Regions from separate parts of the Homo sapiens genome. Here region 2 is linked to region 1. The links are contacts of gene promoters, found by promoter capture Hi-C in blood cells and fetal thymus (Javierre and others, 2016). All regions are on one chromosome and are shown on one strand. Each heading gives the region's core, a stretch centred on a gene start or on the middle of the fragment in contact. The rest is flanking DNA. Distances are from core to core; before and after follow the strand shown.

The links. Contacts are between HindIII fragments. The CHiCAGO score rates a contact against its expected background, and 5 or more counts as called.
Region 2: the fragment with the promoter of NOVA2 here is called in contact with the fragment with the promoter of RSPH6A in region 1 in 3 of 17 cell types (neutrophils, total B cells and M0 macrophages); the score reaches 7.5 in neutrophils.

What each region holds. Positions count from the first base shown.
Region 1 is chr19:45,813,156-45,817,339 of GRCh38, forward strand. RSPH6A (radial spoke head 6 homolog A) reads right to left here and starts at 2,153. Exons shown (of 6, transcript NM_030785.4): 1 at 1,372-2,153. The coding sequence starts at 2,021. SYMPK (symplekin scaffold protein) reads right to left here. Exons shown (of 27, transcript NM_004819.3): 24 at 3,643-3,819; 25 at 3,327-3,422; 26 at 2,696-3,028; 27 at 2,255-2,542. The coding sequence ends at 2,405. RefSeq lists an enhancer at 3,827-3,896 and a silencer at 4,057-4,146. The HindIII fragment of the contact is 28,371 bases long and covers 1-4,184 here.
Region 2 is chr19:45,971,630-45,975,813 of GRCh38, forward strand. NOVA2 (NOVA alternative splicing regulator 2) reads right to left here and starts at 2,236. Exons shown (of 4, transcript NM_002516.4): 1 at 1,638-2,236. The coding sequence starts at 1,722. RefSeq lists a silencer at 2,402-2,561. The HindIII fragment of the contact is 31,968 bases long and covers 1-4,184 here.

The DNA of each region.
Region 1 (4,184 bases), core at 903-3,402:
TCCTCCCTTGGTTCCAGACACACCAGCCCCTCCTTACTGCTCCTCAAAAACAGCAAGCCTCAGAGCCTTTGCATTTGCAGTGTGCTCTGCCTGGCTCACTCTTCCTCCGGTCATCTGCAAGATGCTCTCCCTCGACTCCTTCAGGGCCCTAATCAAATGTCACCTCCTTGGACAGGCCTTCACTGACCCACACAATTTATTTTTTTGAGATGGAGTCTCGCTCTGTTGCCCAGGCTGGAGTGCAGTGGCACGATCTCGGCTCACTGCAACCTCTGCCGCCCGGGTTCAAGTGATTCTCCTGCCTCAACCTCCCGAGGAGCTGGGATTACAGGCCCATGCTACCATGCCCTGATAATTTTTGTATTTTTTAGTAGAGACAGGGTTTCGCCATGTTGGCAAGGCTGGTCTCGAACTCCTGACCTCAGGTGATCCGCCCGTCTTGGCCTCCTCAAGTGCTGGGATAACAGGCGTGAGCCACCGCACCTGGTTGGACCCCCACTATTTCATGTGTTCCCTAGCCCTCTTAGCCTCCCTTATTTTTCACCTGAGTCCTTAGCTTCAGTTTATCACTTTTTCTGTTTCTTGTCCACTCTCCTAGAATGAGAGCATCCTGGGTATCTAATGGAGGCTGAGAGCAGTGTTTTGTGACTGTAGCTAAGTGGCTTTGGCAAGTATCTTCCTCAGGCAGGGAGGTTTAGTTGCAGGATAAGAGGGTCTCAGGAGGGCTGGGCACGGTGGTTCATGCCTGCAATCCTAGCACTTTGGGAGGCTGAGATGGGCGGATCACTTGAGGTCGAGTTTGAGACTAGCCTGGGCAACATGGTGAAATCTTGCCTCTACTAAAAATACAAAAATTAGCTGGGTGAAGTGGAGCGCGCCTGTAACCCCAACTACTCGGGAGGCTGAAGCAGAAGAATCACTTGAACTTGGGAAGGAGAGGTTGCCCTAAGCCAAGACCACGCCACTGTGCTCCAGCCTGGGTGACAGGGTGAGACTATGTCTGGGGGAAAAAAAAAGCAAGAGGGCTTGGGGAGCCAAATCACGTGTTCTGGAATCCTGACTCTGCCATATCCTAGCTGTGTAGTTTTGGGTAAGCGACCCAACTTCTCTGTGTCTCGGTCTCCTCCTCTGTAAAGTAGGATGAGCTGATGTGCTCATCTCCGGTGAGAATTAGGTGAGTGTGTGCAGTGCCAGCACATGTCTGGGAAGTGAATGCTAGCTGTTGTTGGCATTGATTCCGACTCAGCTGAATTAGAGTCACTGGTTTTCCATGAGGGATGATCCCTTGTCTGACTGACTGAGGCAGGCACTTCGGGTGGGGCCCCTCCCTGCCTGGGTCCCCCACCCGCCCCACTCCTAGCCCCTGCTCACAGGCTGAGGTCGCAATTGATGCTGGTCTGCAGCAGGTAGGCCTTGGCGTTCTGCACGGCCAGCTCCAGAGGCTCGGGCTCAGGCACCTGGGCACTGTAGTGTGGGAAGCCCAGCTCAGAGGGCAAGAACTGAAGGGCAGGGTCATCCCTTATGTAAGGCCCGTGCTGGGCACCTTCAGAGAACTGGTCTGTCTGGTAGAGGTTGAACTGGCCCAAGGGGTTGACTGGGGGCTCCTGGAAGGTGGGGTCCAGTTGCTGGAACAGGCTGCTTTGGCCCTGCTGGAGCCGCTGCAGCATTAGGCTGGTGGTGAGCTCGGCGACCTGCATCCTGCTTTCATCAGAGTAAGGCTGAGGCTGGAACTCTGAGGGAAAGCCCGTGTTCACAGATGGGTACTCCATGCCACCCAGCCGGGCTTCCTCAGCCTGGAAGACCTGGGGCATCAGCAAGTTCTCCTGTTGGGACAGGCTGCCCCTCTGTGACCAACCAGGGGCGTTTCGCTGGGCGTCTGGAGGTATCTGCTGCCTCTCCTCGGGGTCCGCTGCCAGGGCCTGAGCTTGGTCCCGACTGTGCCGCCTCTGGGAGGCCTGAGAAGTCCTCCGGCCCGGAGGCTGCTGGGCAGGGCGCTCAGGGTAGGGCGGCAGGTCTCCCATGGTTCGCCAGGAGGCACAGATCTCTAGGAGAAAGGCTTGCAGACAAGGAGGCCAAGCGAGAGCCACCTGTCGACACCGCCGGTTTCTGAGCACCGAGAGAGGGGGCCGTTACCCGTGGAGGGCGCGGGGAGCGGGCCAGGGTGGGTTCCGCGCAGGCTCTGGGCGCGCACTCCCGATCCCGCGCAGCCCCACGGTGGACGTCGCGCCAGACTCGAGACGGCACCCGCGCCCCAGGCCCGCCATCCCTTTTTTTTTTTCTTTTCAGTAACTTGCCCAAGTTCACATCTTTTATTTCTTTTTAAGGCAAAGCACCCGCAGGTCAAGCCCCGCCCCGTCCCCCAGCCCCGAGTCCCTGTCCCACCCCCTTTCCCCCTCGAGCCCCGTCAGCTGTTCCCCTTGGCCTCGGGTTCCCTGGCGTCCTCGGCAGCCGGGCTGGGAGTCTTCATAGCATCTTCTCCAACAGGTGCGAGGGTCTGGGGGCTCCGCTCCTCCTTCAAGGTCAGCCCGCCCGCTGCCGTCTCCTGGTGACCGGGGAAGGAAAGGGCAGCCGGGTGGAGGGCGCGGTCACCTCCACGCTCCCCTTCAGGCCCTGCCCCCTGATGGCCCCTCCTCCCCCACCTTCACCCCGGCCCAGATCCGGCTTCTTCCTTCGCAGCGGAGGCTGCTCTCCCTACCTTGGGTAGGGGGCCCTCGAGACTAGAGTCCAACAGCGCGGCCTCGGTCAGCCCCGAGTCGTCATCCATGCTGATGAAGATGCCCGGGGTCTCGCACTCAGGCCCCTCCTCCCGGAAATCCATGGCTTCCTCAGACGGGGGCGGGCCTGGCCGGGCCGACGGAGAGGGAGAGGGGGAGGAAGAGGAGGGGGCTCCCACTCCTCCCGGCTTCAGCTTCTGTTCCTCCTCCAGCTGCCGCTTTAAGGCCTTCTCCTGGGCCAGTCGCAGGCCGATGAGGTCCTGAGGGGGCCGGGGTGCTGGGGCCGGGGCCAAGGTCAGGGGCTCCAGATCATCCTGGGGATAGGGAGGGCCACACAGAAGCTCAGAGGTGGGTGGCTCAGAGGACGGCCGGAAAGAGAAGGAACCACCCTGAGGTGGTCTTTGAGTTCTTCACCAAGAGCATGGGGAGGAAGGGGCAGTTGTCCCCCAGACCCCCAACTCCCAGCAGGAGCATCCCCTGGGAGACGGGTGGCCCAGAGGCAGGGGTGGCCTGAGTCTCTCGGGGTCAGGAGGAGGCCATGGTGAGCCTTGCTGGCTTGGGGTAGGGGGTGGGAGTCTGGGGATCCAGATGGGTGGGCTGCAGGGCCCTCACCTCCTCCAAGGGCCCCGCAGGCGCCTCCTTGGCCTCTGGCTCCTGCTTGCCGCTGGCCTCCAAGATGGTCATGATGGAGTTAGGGATGTGAGCTTGCTGGGTGGAGAGCAGGAAGGGGGCGCTGGGGGCAGCTCTGGCACAGAGACCCCATTTGCACACCTCAGGTCCGGGGGCCCTAACCCTCCAGAACTCCCAGCAGTGCAGGGCCTTCTTGTGTCCGCCTCCATCCAGTCCCCACCAACCAGAGGGACCCAGGGGGCCGCCCACCGCACACCCTGGGTGGGGGGAAAGGGTACCTGGTGGGGGGAAGGGGTACCTGGTGGGGGGTGAAGGAGCGGACATGGGCCAGCAGGGGCTCCCGGAGCTCTGGGCACTTGTCAAAGACGGCTCCCAGCTGCTGGGGCGGCAGCTGCAGGATGACCTGGAAGCTCTGGGGCTTTGTGCGCTGGCAGCACTTGATGAAGCCCTCCCACACCTTGGGGTACTTCCACACCTGAACCAGGGAGGGAGGGAGCCGTCGGGAGAGGCACACAGGCATCCCCCCGAGCCTTGACACTGGGAGAAAGACCTTGCCAAGACCATGCCCAAATCCCACCATCCAAGATTCCTCTGGATGGGCAACAAGCAGCCCCGACCTCCCTCCAGAGGCCTTTGTCTTCCCGATCCAGGCGGCTGGACCACGAGGGCAACTTGGGAAGGGGGTGGAAGAAAACTCAGCCGCCTTTTACCAGAGCTCCCCCTGGGCCAGGCCCAGGCTAAGTGCTGCGGGAGCACCTCTCATGACATTCTCACGGCAGCCTCCAGGGGGCGAAATTACCCCTGCTAAACAGCGGAGGTCCGTGCCGGTGCCGGGACCTG
Region 2 (4,184 bases), core at 986-3,485, 160 kb after region 1:
GAGGAGGTAGGAGGCCCCCACCCCACCCACTGCCAGGCCTGGCGGAGAGGAAAGGGTGCACTCTGCCTGAAGCCATCCCTCTCCCATCCGGAGGAAAAGGCCAGAGGAAGTGGAGATTTTGGCAAGGTGACCGCGGGGAGGGGCTTGTCCGCTGCGGGGTCTCCCTCCTACCAGGGAGCTAGAGGACAGGGCTCTGAGGACCCCAAAAAACCCCACCTCTTCCCTGAGCCCCCCACGGCAGGGCATGCACCTAGAGTTCCCAGCTCGGCTTTTCTTCTCTGGTACACACACCTCCTTGGGTCACACACCCAGGGAGAGCCCCTCTCTTCCCTCACACTGCCTTCCGTGGTGTCAAACATTCGGCAATCTCCAATACACACGGACACACACACAGCCTCCCTTGTCAAACACATGCAGAATCATCCCCATATCTCTGGTGTCACACACTCAGCCATTTCACACACACACCTCTCCTTGTTACACCCATACACACAGCTGGGTGTCATATGCACACGTGCCCTGTCACATGGGGACCCATCCTTCCTTCTCCTTTTTACACACCCTCGTGCGTTTCACCCACAAGCCCCAGCCTCTCCCTCGTCATACACCCACCTTCCCTGTTGCACACACCCCCTCTGATGTCACTGTTGCACACCTCCATGTGTCACACCCAGCCACAGCCTCTCTGGAGTCACACCCACACCCTTTTCTTGTCACATCCCCTCACCAGCCACGCCTGTGTCACACACACTGGACCCCTTTCCTCTGATCTACACGGCCTCTTCTGGCTGACACCCAGAGCCAGCCCATTCGGTGTCCCCCACACACCTCCTTGCATGTCACACACACCCTCTCATGTGTCACACTCTGCCACAGCCCCCTTGGGGGTGACAAGCACACACCTTTCCTTGTCACACGTACCCGCTGGAGGGTCTCAAACATGGAGCCCAGCCCCTGTCCCCTGTCTTTCTCATACACCCCCCTATGCTGTCATATTCCTGATCCCTAATGTCACACATCCAGGCTGTAGAGGGCACACATACACACACACGCACACACATACACACCTGTCCTAGCCTCACATTCTCCCACCTAGCTTTACACACCCACCATTTCCTCCATTTCACCCCACACACCTACCCAGCCTGTCCCCACGCACGATCCGGCCAGGGCCACACAAGCCTCCATCTGGGACAACCCTTGTTCAGGACATCCCCAGGGAGGGAGGCTGGGAAGCTCCCGGTCCACAGGCCTCTACTCCTTCCCCTCCCCCAGCCAGGACACGCGAGCTCGGGGAACACCCCTGCTCCGAAAGGGTCACATCACACACCCCTCAAGGACACACAGACACCTGCCCTGAGGCTCCCACGCCCCCCATCTTCTGCGCCCCCCAAGGACACTTATCACCCCCTCCCCCCCACCCCTCTCCTCGCAGACAAAGCTCCCAGCCCCGGGCCTCAGCGAGAGGAGGAGGGGGTCCAGCCCCCTCCTCAACTCCCCGCTCTGTCCCCCGCCTCGGGGAGGGGTGTCTCTCCCCTCCCCAGAGCCCTTGCACCTGCCACGGGAGGGGGGGAAAGGATGGAGAAAGGCGAGGCCCCCTGCCCGCTCCCCCGCCCCGAGCCGCAGCCCTTTCTCACCTCCCGTGTTGCTGCGCTTGGTGCAGACCACCTCGGGGGGCGTTTCGAGGGGCCTCTTGCGGGAATCCGGGGCCTCGGGCTCCATGGGGGGGGCCTGGGGCGGCGGCTGCTGCTGCTGCGGCGGCTGCGGCGGCGGCGGCGGCGGCTGCTGTGGCGGCGGCGACGGCTGCTGGGGAGGCTGGGGTTGCGGCGGCGGCGGCGGCGGGGGCGGCGGCGGCTGCGGGGCCGCGGAGGCCGTGAAGAGGCCGTGCACCGCGCCGGCGGCCATCATCCTCATGGTGGGGGGGGGCGGGGGGCGGGGGGCGGGGGAGGGGGAGGGGAGGGGAGGTGGGAGGGGGAGGGGGCGGTGGAGGGATGGGGGAGGGGGAGCCCCGGAGAGGGAAGGCGGGGGTAGGGGGGAGCCGGTTCTCGGGGGGCTGACAGAGCCTGGAGAGCGGCCGTGAGCAGGATGGCAGGGCCGAGGGGGGTCTCCGATAGGGCCGGGAAAGAACTGAGAGGTGGGGTCTCTCCTGGGACCACAGAGGCTGGGGACTGGACGCGCCACTGGGGGGACGGGACTCCCCGCTTCTTCTTGGCTCCCTGGGGCAAGAGGGCCGAGCCCCCCAGACCCTGCTCGGGGTGGGGGGCCGGAGGAGCGTGGCCGGAGTGGGAGGCGGAGGCGGCCGCTAGTGGGGGCCCGGGGGGCGGCGGGCGCGGGCGGCGGCGGCGACGGGGCTGGCGGTGGCTGCTGGCCCGAGCATCTTCTTCCCGGAGGCTCCCACAGCGCCTGGCCCCTCCCACCCAACGAGGTCACGCCCATGCCGGGTAGGGCCACGCCCTTCGGCGCCCCCATTGGTCCAGCCTTGAAGCCTGGACCACGTCCCTCTGGGTTGGCCACGCCCCTCCCGGCGGCAGAGAGCTGGACCCGACTCCCCCAGGCTGCTGGGAGGACCCCGGGCTCCTCCAAGCCGTCCCCACTCCTCACCTTGAATGAACGTTTATTGAGCACTTACTGTGTGCCAGGTCCGGTTCCAAGCAAGCACGTCACAGACGTTATCGCATTTACTCCCCAGAGCGACCAGCTCTGTGAGTTACGCTTATTATCCCTATTTTACAGATGAGGAAACAGCCTTAGGAGCTTACTTTGACTTCACTTGGTCAAGACAAGAAATTTCGACTAGGCGCGGTGGTTCATGCCTGTCATCCCAGCACTTTGGGAGGCCGAGGCGGAAGAATCACTTGAGCCCAGGAGTTTGAGACGAGCTGGGCAACAATATTGTGAGACCCCATCTCTACAAAAAAAAAATTTTTTTTTTAATTAGCCAGGCGTGGTAGCACATGCTTGTAGCCCCAGGTACTCTGGAGTCTGAGGTGGGAGGATCTCTTGAGCACAGGAGTTTGAGGCTGCAGTCAGCCATGATCAAGCAACTAGATTCGAGCCTGGGAGACAGAGCAAAACCTTGTCTCAAAAAAAAAAAAAAAAAAGAAAGAAAGAAAGAGAAAGAAATTTCACTTCACTCTTTTTCAATCCTTTCAGCTGGGAAATTCCCCTTCAAATCTTTCATCCATCCTTTGAAGAATCAACACCGTGATGCTGAAAGGGCTCAGAGGATTGAATTCACTGAGCTGGAGTTGCAGCCTGCAGCACCTGCCCTGGGGCACAACTGGCTCTCCATTCAAACAACAGCACTCAGGGCCTACCTACTAAGTGCCAGGCACTGTCCCTGATGCTGCGATACAATAGAGAACAAAACAGCCTTGGCCCTTGTACAGTATTACTACTCATGTCATTAAGAAAAATTTGTTTTCAGATGACAAAGTGGAGGCCTGGGAACATTGAGGGTGGCTTCTTCAAGGGCACACAGCTTGAGAGAGAGAAACTGGGATGAGAACGCAGGACAAGTCCAATTTCAGAGCCCAAAGTCATTGGAACTAGGGTGCCTTTCTTTGGAATGGATCATTGCTATTATTCTGTGTTCCTTGATGCAAGAATTTCCTTCTCCCTGGGTTCTTAACCTCCAAGGAATCTTTCCTTCCTGGGTTGGTCAGAGGCAAGATTAGGCTCAGAAGGGGTCTGGATGCAGGTAATTGTGGCCACTGCGTGATCTGCGGCAGGGGGATCGGCTCCAACCCCCCCCTGCTCCTCCCTTGCCATGCTCTCAGGTCCCCAGGATGGGGGAGGGTAGCAGATGGCCTGGGGTGGATGGGGTGGCTACCCATCTGTCCCCTCCCCCCCATTGTCCCCAGAGCCAAGGGGGATGGGAGGGGGCTGTGGTCCACTGCAGTCTGGATCCTCCCCCTCCATCTTCCTGGAGGGAGCTGAGGAGCTGGTTGCCATGGAGATGGGGAAGAGGCAAGACGGATATAGGGAGATACGGGGGTCAGGCTGAGTACCACACCTTAGACCCTTTGAGTCAAATAGCCTCACACCACACAGGTACATATCCCAACATCCATGAAATTAGCTGTGAAGTTTCCCCCTCTGTGTGACACACACAGAGTCACACTGGCCCTGCTGCAGGTGCACGGTCTCAACACAGTCACACAGACACACTTATAGGGGATAGG